Regions from separate parts of the Homo sapiens genome. Here region 2 is linked to region 1. The links are contacts of gene promoters, found by promoter capture Hi-C in human tissues and cell types (Jung and others, 2019). All regions are on one chromosome and are shown on one strand. The core of a region is centred on a gene start or on the middle of the fragment in contact, and the rest is flanking DNA. Distances in the headings are between cores, read along the strand shown. Region 1 holds the start of RNF169 (ring finger protein 169). Region 2 overlaps CHRDL2 (chordin like 2).

What was found. Contacts are between HindIII fragments. The study calls those that stand out against the background at their distance.
Region 2: a contact is called between a fragment that was not itself captured here and the fragment with the promoter of RNF169 in region 1, in 1 of the 25 tissues and cell types used here (H1 embryonic stem cells).

Annotation. Positions count from the first base shown.
Region 1 is chr11:74,745,757-74,750,125 of GRCh38, reverse strand. RNF169 (ring finger protein 169) reads right to left here and starts at 1,277. Exons shown (of 6, transcript NM_001098638.2): 1 at 744-1,277. The coding sequence starts at 1,245. It also overlaps the pseudogene RPS12P22. RefSeq lists silencers at 503-602, 613-872, 903-1,052, 1,226-1,446 and enhancers at 420-1,013, 1,163-1,252. The HindIII fragment of the contact is 10,658 bases long and covers 1-4,369 here.
Region 2 is chr11:74,693,013-74,697,197 of GRCh38, reverse strand. It overlaps CHRDL2 (chordin like 2), which reads left to right. Exons shown (of 11, transcript NM_001278473.3): 11 at 613-769. The coding sequence ends at 689. Among named protein-coding and RNA genes, the nearest start is that of MIR4696, 25 kb to the left of the region's middle. RefSeq lists an enhancer at 1-574. The HindIII fragment of the contact is 8,297 bases long and covers 1-4,185 here.

The sequences.
Region 1 (4,369 bases), core at 28-2,527:
TTTAATTGCCAGCAAGCCAGTAGGAAACCCATACTGCCAAGGAGATAGAAGCAGCCCCTGCCACCCAACCTTTGTTTCCAAAACTTTTAAACCCAAGCCAGCTTTTCTGTCAGGCACTACTGGACTTAGTAGTACTAGTATTACAAATATAAACGACAGTCACTTACTGCTTCCTCACTATGTGCCAAGTTCTGTGCTAAGCATACATTTTCCAAAATGTATGAAAACAACTGCACAAGTGTGCTCCCAACCCCCTCTGCTCTCGAGTCTGAAAAGCTCCCTTCACATCCTCAAATTCAACCTGTTCCCTAAACTCCGGATTCTCCACACCCTTCACTGACCCTTTCAAGGCCAGGAGCCACATCTCTCCAAGCAATATGACCCCCAAACTCTTCATCCAACATTAAACCAAGCACTTCTCTGATCCAAGGCCCCTCCCACTCCCACACACCAATTCCAACCTGCCCCTAACTTGTTCCAACAATTCTGTTTCCCTCCAAACTTCGGACTTACGTAAGGCACAGGGTGCCCTCACCGCCCCTCCGCATGCAACGTGCCTGTCCTTCACTCTGAAGTTCAAAATTCACAAACACACTGCACCTGGGTAGAGCCCGGGTTCTAATCCCACGAGAACTCTCCACACCCGCCCGAGTAGGGCCCGGGACTCTCCACCCCCTCACCAGGCCGGGCCGGGGCGCGCTCGGCCTCGCTCCAGACCCTAAGGGGAAGTGGGGAAGCTCCACCTGGCTCCGCAGGCGCGGCACGCGGCTCCTGCTCTGGCCTGGGCCCCGCGGCAGCCGCGCCCCCGTCCCGGCGCGGGCGGCAGCGCTCGGGTTGGCTGCGGCGGGCGCACTCGCCCAGCACCTCTGAGTCGGCCTGGCCGTCGTCGCGGGCCCGACGGCGGGCCCAGCCTGGGCCGCGGGCGCGGCAGCGAGGGCAACCCGGGCCCGCCGCGTCGGCGGCGCGTTGGGCGCAGCCTCGGCAAAGCGAGTGGCCGCACGGCAGGGCCGCTGCTTCTCCGGGGGGCTCCAGGCACCCGGCGCAGCCCGATTCCTCCGGCCGCGGCGGCAGCGGCGGCTGCAGCAACGGCGGCGACAACACCAACAGCGAAGGTCCAGAAGCCGGGCCTGGGGCCCCAGTCTTAGCTGCCGCCGTCTCGTCACAGCGGCCCCGCCGGCCCCGCCGACTCAGAGCGGCTGCTGCCGCCGCGGAAGAGGCCCGAGTACTCGGACCTGCAGCCGCCATCTTGTTTCCCGTTTGAAGGGAGAGTCGGTTGCGAGGGAGAAGAGTGGAGGGCGGGGCAGTACGCGCGGTGGGCAGTGCTATCTACATATTCATGAGGGGCGAGGCTTCTGTGAGCCCAAAGAGGGTTCTCCTCAGACCTGATTGGCCAGAGGGGATACTTCATTAATATTTATTAGTTATTCTTTATTATGCGGTCATCAGCCGCACTCTCGAAAAGTCCTTGCAGTTTCCTCTTACTGAACTGAAAGAGGTGGGAACTGAGGGGCTTTACTGGCAATTCTGAACGATGTTAAACTTTGATACACGTACTTATCCTGTAATGCCTTGATAACTGAGGAGAAAGTGAGTGGGGAATATGTGAGTTACTCAGAAACCTGCCTTAGTGTTCATTTGATATGAGGGCCTGAGCTCTCTCCTAAGGATGGGGGTAGCTTTGTGACTGAAACCAGGCCCACCGTGGTAACTAACTGCCAAAAGGAGCAGCCTCTTGTCAATCCTACCTCCTCATCCTCTCTCCCCATGTCCCTTCCTGAAACTGCCCCCCTTGGCTGGTAAAACCACACTTTCCTGGTTTTTTTCCCAGGCTCTTGGCTCCTTCTCAGTCTCCCGTGTTTGGTGCTTCCATGTGGGTGTTCCTCTAGGCTTAGGCCTCAGTCCCCTTCTCACTCTGCGTGCTGCACTGGTCCACATTTTCTTCCCTCAGGAGCTCCCAGATTGCTGTCTGCAGCCCAGGCCTCCTGAGTCCAGCCCTCCATATTCAACTGCCTGATGGAAACATCCTCTTAGATCCCTACATTCCTCATGTACAAAACTAATGTCACTGTCTCCCATCCTCCTTTCAAAACTGCTCTTCTTATTTCCTTCATTCTATGAAAGGTCCCATCCTCCCAGGTACTCAAGCTCCAAACCTAGTCATCTTGAACTTCTTCCTTATCTCCCACAAACCATCAGTTATTTAGTCCTGTCAATTCCACTATCAAAATGACTATTTCCCCACCTCTTCATCCCATTCCCACTGCCCAATTCAGGTCTAATCATCTCTCATCTAGATTACTGCAGTAGCTGCTATAGATTGATTGTCTCCCCTCTCCCAACCTCTTTTCTAATCCATCCTCCACACTCTTCGAGTTGCTTCCTATAGGCCAGCTCTGACCGTGTCACTCCTGCTTGAGCTAGGGAGAGGTGCTTGGACTTTGATGCTAGTGCCCTTTCTAGATGCAGAGGTTCCAGGAGAAAGAATGACCCCTCTCTAATGGAAAGGTGGTTCTGCTACAGTAGTTCTCCCATTCTTTGCTTTCTTTGCCCTGGGATAGATTTGGAGCAGGGCAAAGAATGGGAAGCATTAAATAAATGGCATTTCTTAGTGGAAACCTTTATAGGATAACACGAGTTTTGTAAAGAGAGAAAAATAAAAAAGCAACATAGGCTGGGGGCGGTGGCTCACGCCTGCACTTTGGGAGGATGAGGCAGGCAGATCGCTTGAGCTCAGGAGTTAAAGACCAGCCTGGGCAACATGGTGAAACCCCATCTCTACAAAAAATACAGAAATTAGCTGGGCATGGTGGCACTCACCTGTACTCAGGAGGCTGAGGCAGGAAGATCACTGGAGTCCATGAGGTTAAGGCTGCAGTGAGCCGTGATGGCACCACTGCATTCCAACCTGGACAACAGAATGAGACATTGTCTCAAAAAAAAAAATCAACATAATATAATAGAAGGCATGAGAAGCCCTGGGTTTTGATGAGATTGCCCAGAGCTAGCGGTAAACCAATCCAGTGCCGAGTGATTGATTAACTCAGAGAGCAGGGGGAAAAAAAGGTGATGGATTCCCAAGATAAGAACCAGATGGCTAAAGGACAGTCAAGAGTTGAAGAAAGGCCAATGGGTGATTAAAACAAAGACCTGTTTGCATAGAGACCCAGACAGAATCCTGCCAGACACAGAAGTATGGCCTTGGCTAGGCTATCCTTTATCCATGGGTCCTGCCCACTTCCATCCCAACTTAAGGTTCTTGAGGACATTTTTCCCGGATTCTGACAAAGGAGATCTGTGATCCAGAGATCAAGCCAACCATCATTAGAAATGGGACCATTTGTGCAGGCTGTTCACTCTCGATGGTTTGGATCTTTTAATCTGTTTACTGTTGGAGGAGCTGAGCCACAGAAACATAGCATGCTTTCTTGGATACAAATAAATATAGAAAATTTCCTTTAGCAGAGGGAAAAAGCAAGAGGTCTGAGTAGCACTGGACCAGAAGCCAGGAGATCTGGGGTTGGTCTTGGCCCCTTCTAACTCACTGTGTGATTTCAAACAGCTAACTTCCTTCTGGGCCTCAATCTCCTCATTTTTAAAACAAGAGTATTGAAGGCTTGGTGCTGTGGCTCACGCCTGTAATCCCAGCACTCTGGGAGGCCGAGGCAGGCAGATCACGAGGTCAGGAGACCAAGACCATCCTGGCTAACACGGTGAAACCCCGTCTCTACTAAAAATACAAAAAATTAGCCGGGCGTGGTGGCGGGCGCCTGTAGTCCTAGCTACTCGGGAGGCTGAGGCAGGAGAATGGCGTGAACCCGGGAGGCGGAGGTTGCAGTAAGCCGAGATGGCACCACTGCTCTCCAGCCTGGGCGACAGAGCAAGACTCCATCTCGAAAAAAAAAAAGAGTATTGAAAGTCATCAGTTCTCGCCCTTTCCCTCCTGCCGCCGAGTCGCGCGGAGGCGGAGGCTTGGGTGCGTTCAAGATTCAGGTTCACCCGTAACCCACTGCCATGGCCGAGGAAGGCATTGCTGCTGGAGGTGTAATGGAGGTTAATACTGCTTTACAAGAGGTGCTGAAGACCGCCCTCATCCACGATGGCCTAGCACGTGGAATTCGCGAAGCTGCCAAAGTCTTAGACAAGCGCCAAGCCCATCTTTGTGTGCTTGCATCCAACTGTGATGAGCCTATGTATGTCAAGTTGGTGGAGGCCCTTTGTGCTGAACACCAAATCAACCTAATTAAGGTTGATGACAACAAGAAACTAGGAGAATGGGTAGGCCTCTGTAAAATTGACAGAGAGGGGAAACCCCATAAAGTGGTTGGTTACAGTTGTGTAGTAGTTAAGGACTATGGCAAGGAGTCTCAGG
Region 2 (4,185 bases), core at 190-2,689, 53 kb after region 1:
CTTGGGCTGAGGAATGGGGCCGGGGCAGGAAGAAGGCAAGGACACGGGCCAGAGCCTTTCGGGGAGTTCCCAGGCTGCTGGTGCCGGGAGGAGGGGCTGTCAGCCACAGACGTCAGTTCCCAGCACAGGAATCCAGCGGGTGTCTGCGCCAGAGATTTCCTAACTCCAGAGCGGGAAGGTGAAGCAGAGCTGGCTGGATTTGGTTCTGAGGGTGGAGGGAGAAAGGGCTGTGGAGAGGGGAGGTCTGAGCCCCCAAACCTGGGTACTGCCCACTCCCTCTCTACTGGAATGTTTCCACTTTCCTTCTATACCTTACTTTTAGGAAGATGGACCCAGGTGGGGTTTCAGGTCGGGGAGGGGAGGTCACAGAGGGGAGTATTACCAACAGGTGTCAGGAAACCAGTTCTGTCCCCCAAGGTTGTTTGAAAGCTGGGTCATGTGCCCCATCACACCCAGTGTGATGGCACACTCGCCTCCAGGCTCCCTGTGGGCTCCAAACCCTGGCCCTTGCAGTTCCTCCTGGCCCAAGGCTTTTCCAACCCCCAGCTGCTGCCTCTGTTGTGCACGTGCAGACACATACGCCTCTTCCCTCTTCTGCCCTCCTCCATGCAGGTCACTGGAACGTCTTCCTAGCCCAGACCCTGGAGCTGAAGGTCACGGCCAGTCCAGACAAAGTGACCAAGACATAACAAAGACCTAACAGTTGCAGATATGAGCTGTATAATTGTTGTTATTATATATTAATAAATAAGAAGTTGCATTACCCTCAGCCCTGCCTTCTGGGTTCATATCCAGTCTCCTGCATGCTCTCCTAGCAACTCCACAAGGCAGACCTGGTTATCCCCATTTTACAGGGGTGGAAACCAAGATCCAGAAGGGATAGAGAATGGTCCCAGTCCTCACAGTGAGTTGTCACCACAGCCAGGGCTAGCTCCCCCAGCCTCCTCACCCAGGCCCCCCACTGCAGCACCTCCTGCTTTTCCGGGCAGCCCCCCTCCCACAGCTCTTTGACACTGAGCCTCAGAAAGAGGAATGACTCTAATTAGCCAGGGGAGGGCGTTAATGGAGCCTTAAAGCACTTTCCCAGCAAGTATTCCTGGGATCCTCACCACTGTCTTCACACCCTACAATGAGGAAACCCAGTTAGGGAGGAGCAGCAGGCAGTCATTTGCCCAAAGCCGCAGAGCTGCTTAGTAGCAGATCTGGAGTTGGAAGCCAGATCTCTCGCTCCAGGCTAGCACTCCTTCCCCAGTTCCACAGTGTGGCCAGTGTCACGAGCCCAGATAGCCTCACCTCAGAGGATTTCCAAGACTGGGCGGTCAGATTGCTAACCTGGCACCATGCTCTGAGAAGGCCCAACAGTTAGCAATTAAAGACACCATTAGGGCCAGGCACGGTGGCTGACGCCTACAATCCCAGCACTTTGGGAGGCCGAGGGGGGTGGATCGTCTGAGGCCAGGAGTTCGAGACCAGCCTGGCCAACATAGTGAAACCCCATTTCTACTAAAAATACAAAAAATTAGCCAGGCATGGTGGTACACACCTGTAATTCCAGCTACTCGGGAAGTTGAGGCACGAGGATTGCTTGAACCCAGGAGGCAGAGGTTGCAGTGAGCCGAGATTGTGCCACTGCACTCCAGCCTGGGTGACAGAGTAAGACTCCATCTCAAATAATAATAATAATAATAATAATAAAATAAAGACACCATCAATTATTTACCCTGCCCACATGTACAAATCCTTATAATTTCAAAGATGTTTTAATGTCAATGATTTCACTTAAGGTGAAAGGTGTAGGCACTACCCACATTTTAGAGGAGGAGATGGGCTCAGGACCACCACATGTCTTCCCCAAAGCCTCACAGTGGTATGCTGAAGCCAGGGCTAGAACTCAGGCTCCCGGCCCCAGGCGGGGTTCTCTCCTCAGGACAGCTAGTCTCAATCCTCTCACAACCACGGCTCCTCCATCCCCTCCCCACCCAAGCCTGATCAAAGCTCCAGAGAAATGGTGGACAGTAGTCTGTTGACTGGACTTGTGCAGCCACTCAGAGGGCTCTGGCCATTGTCTCCACAGCCTTGGCCTTTTTTGTTTTTTTTTTTTAAGAGATGGGGTCTTGCTATATTGCCCAGGCTGGTCTAGAACTAATGGGCTCAAGCAATCCTCCTGCCTCAGCCTCCCAAAGTGGTGAGATTACAGGCATGAGCCACTAAGCCCAGCCTCCACAGCCCTAATCTTGAACCTAGGGTTACTAAGGTTTGGGAAGTCTGCTAAGGTTTGGGAAGTCTGATGCCACCCTTATTGAGCAGGGATGAGTGTCTCCCTCCCCTAACTCCTCTGCCAGCTCCCAGGGGTCTGGATTTGAAAGTTTGGGGTTTGAGGCTGGAATCTACCAACATCCCCTGAGTCAGAAGACATTCACCTTCTCCCCTCACAGCCTCTACCTGTCCCTCCTCAAGATGACTCACAATTTTGGCCTGGCTTGCTCACACAGAGGGTTCACTTGGAGCTCCAGGGATGGGTTCTGAGCTTGCCTCATTTAAAGTGCAGGAATCTGAAAGCTTAACCATTCACAGGATAAACTCTGGTCATCCTTCAGCCTATCTCAGATGTCTTCAGTGATACTTTCCCTGACACATCTGTGCCCTGTACCGTGGCTCCTTTCCTGGAAAATGGGGTTTGGAAACAGGGCTCTGTCATCAGAGGCAGTTCCAGGGTCTCCGGACAGGAGTGGACTTCGCTGTACACGTTTCCTGATGCTGCAGGCCAAATTGCCTTCCTGGTTTCTCTGATGGGCTTATGGGATGCCTCTGAGGTTCGCTTTTCCACCAGGGGGACACATTCAGCACACTGCCCTCTCCTGACTTTGGTCCAGACCTTTCTGTGTGTGTAAACATGGGCTCGCTATGTGAGTCTGCAGGCAGCTCTGCCATGTTGTCTTCTCTTTCATGGATTCATTCATAAAACAGCTTCGGCGCTGCTCTCGGGTGGGCTTTATGCTCGAGCACCAACACAGTGCAGGGAGCTAATTGCCCTTCCTGTGCTTTTAGAGCCTCAAGTCTGGAGGAGGAGATAGAGGAGGGAGCAGCATCCGAGCCCCTCAGTGTTGCCAGTGCTAAGGGCAGGGACCAAGGGGGCACAGCCCCAACCCAGACTGACGACACTCAAGCAGGCTCGGAAGGTGAGCAGGAGGTAGAAAAAAAAAGGGGGAGAGAGAGAGGAGGGTGGGTGACGGTACAGGAAGAGAAAACTTGGTAGACGGTGAAAAGTAGCAAGTTACGGCAGAACCACAAATAGCTCACTGTCACTGGATGATAATTTGAGGCAACGAGCAAAGGGAGGTGAGGCTGCACAGCTAGCTGAAGAGCTCTGACTGCATCCTGAAGGCTAGCAGGTAGCCCCAGGAGAGTTTCAATACTTTGGTCAGATTTGTGGTTGAGAACACTGGTTCTACCGGCCAGGTGAAGAATGGCCTGGCAGAGTGAGGCTGAGGCCAGGTAGGAGGTGGCTGTTATGGGATCCACGTGAGGATGACTCTGGCCTGGATAGGAGAGAGGTCATGGGCAAGGCACAACGGATGACTGGCTAGACTCAGGATTGAGGGAGAGCAAGGAGCAAGTGTGTACCTGGTGTCTCACTTGGTGATACCTTCTGGGAGAAGAAGCCAGAAGTTTCAGCTGAGCACACGCTGAGGCTCAGGAGGTATCCACAGCCCTCTGGGTTTAATAGGTCTGGAGAGAAAGCTGGGCTAGAGGCAGGGAGTTGGGAGCTGTTGACCTGTAGGTGGTAACTAAAGCTGGGAGAGGGGGTGACACTGGCCTGGGAGAGATGGTGGAGTAAACAGAGTGGGAGCAAGACGGACCCCAGAGCATCAGCAAAGGGTCAGCATGGCGGACAGGGAATAGGTCGGGGAGCAGGGTGCTGAGAGGGCCAGGGTGAGGCTGGCAAAGAGACCTTCGTGGAAACAAGGAGGCTCCAATGGCCACAGCAGGGAGCACAGTCAGGAGAGCTGAGAGGTGGGAGCTGAGTTTTAGGTGCTGAGACGGTTTCTGGGAAGTGAGGAAACAGACAAGCATTTTAAGAAAGCTGGCAGTAAAGAAGAAGAGAGGCAGGGCTGTGGCTGGCTGTGCACATGGGCTTGAAGAAGACAGCTTTTTGGCTGAGAGCAAGTCTCGGTGACGAGGCGA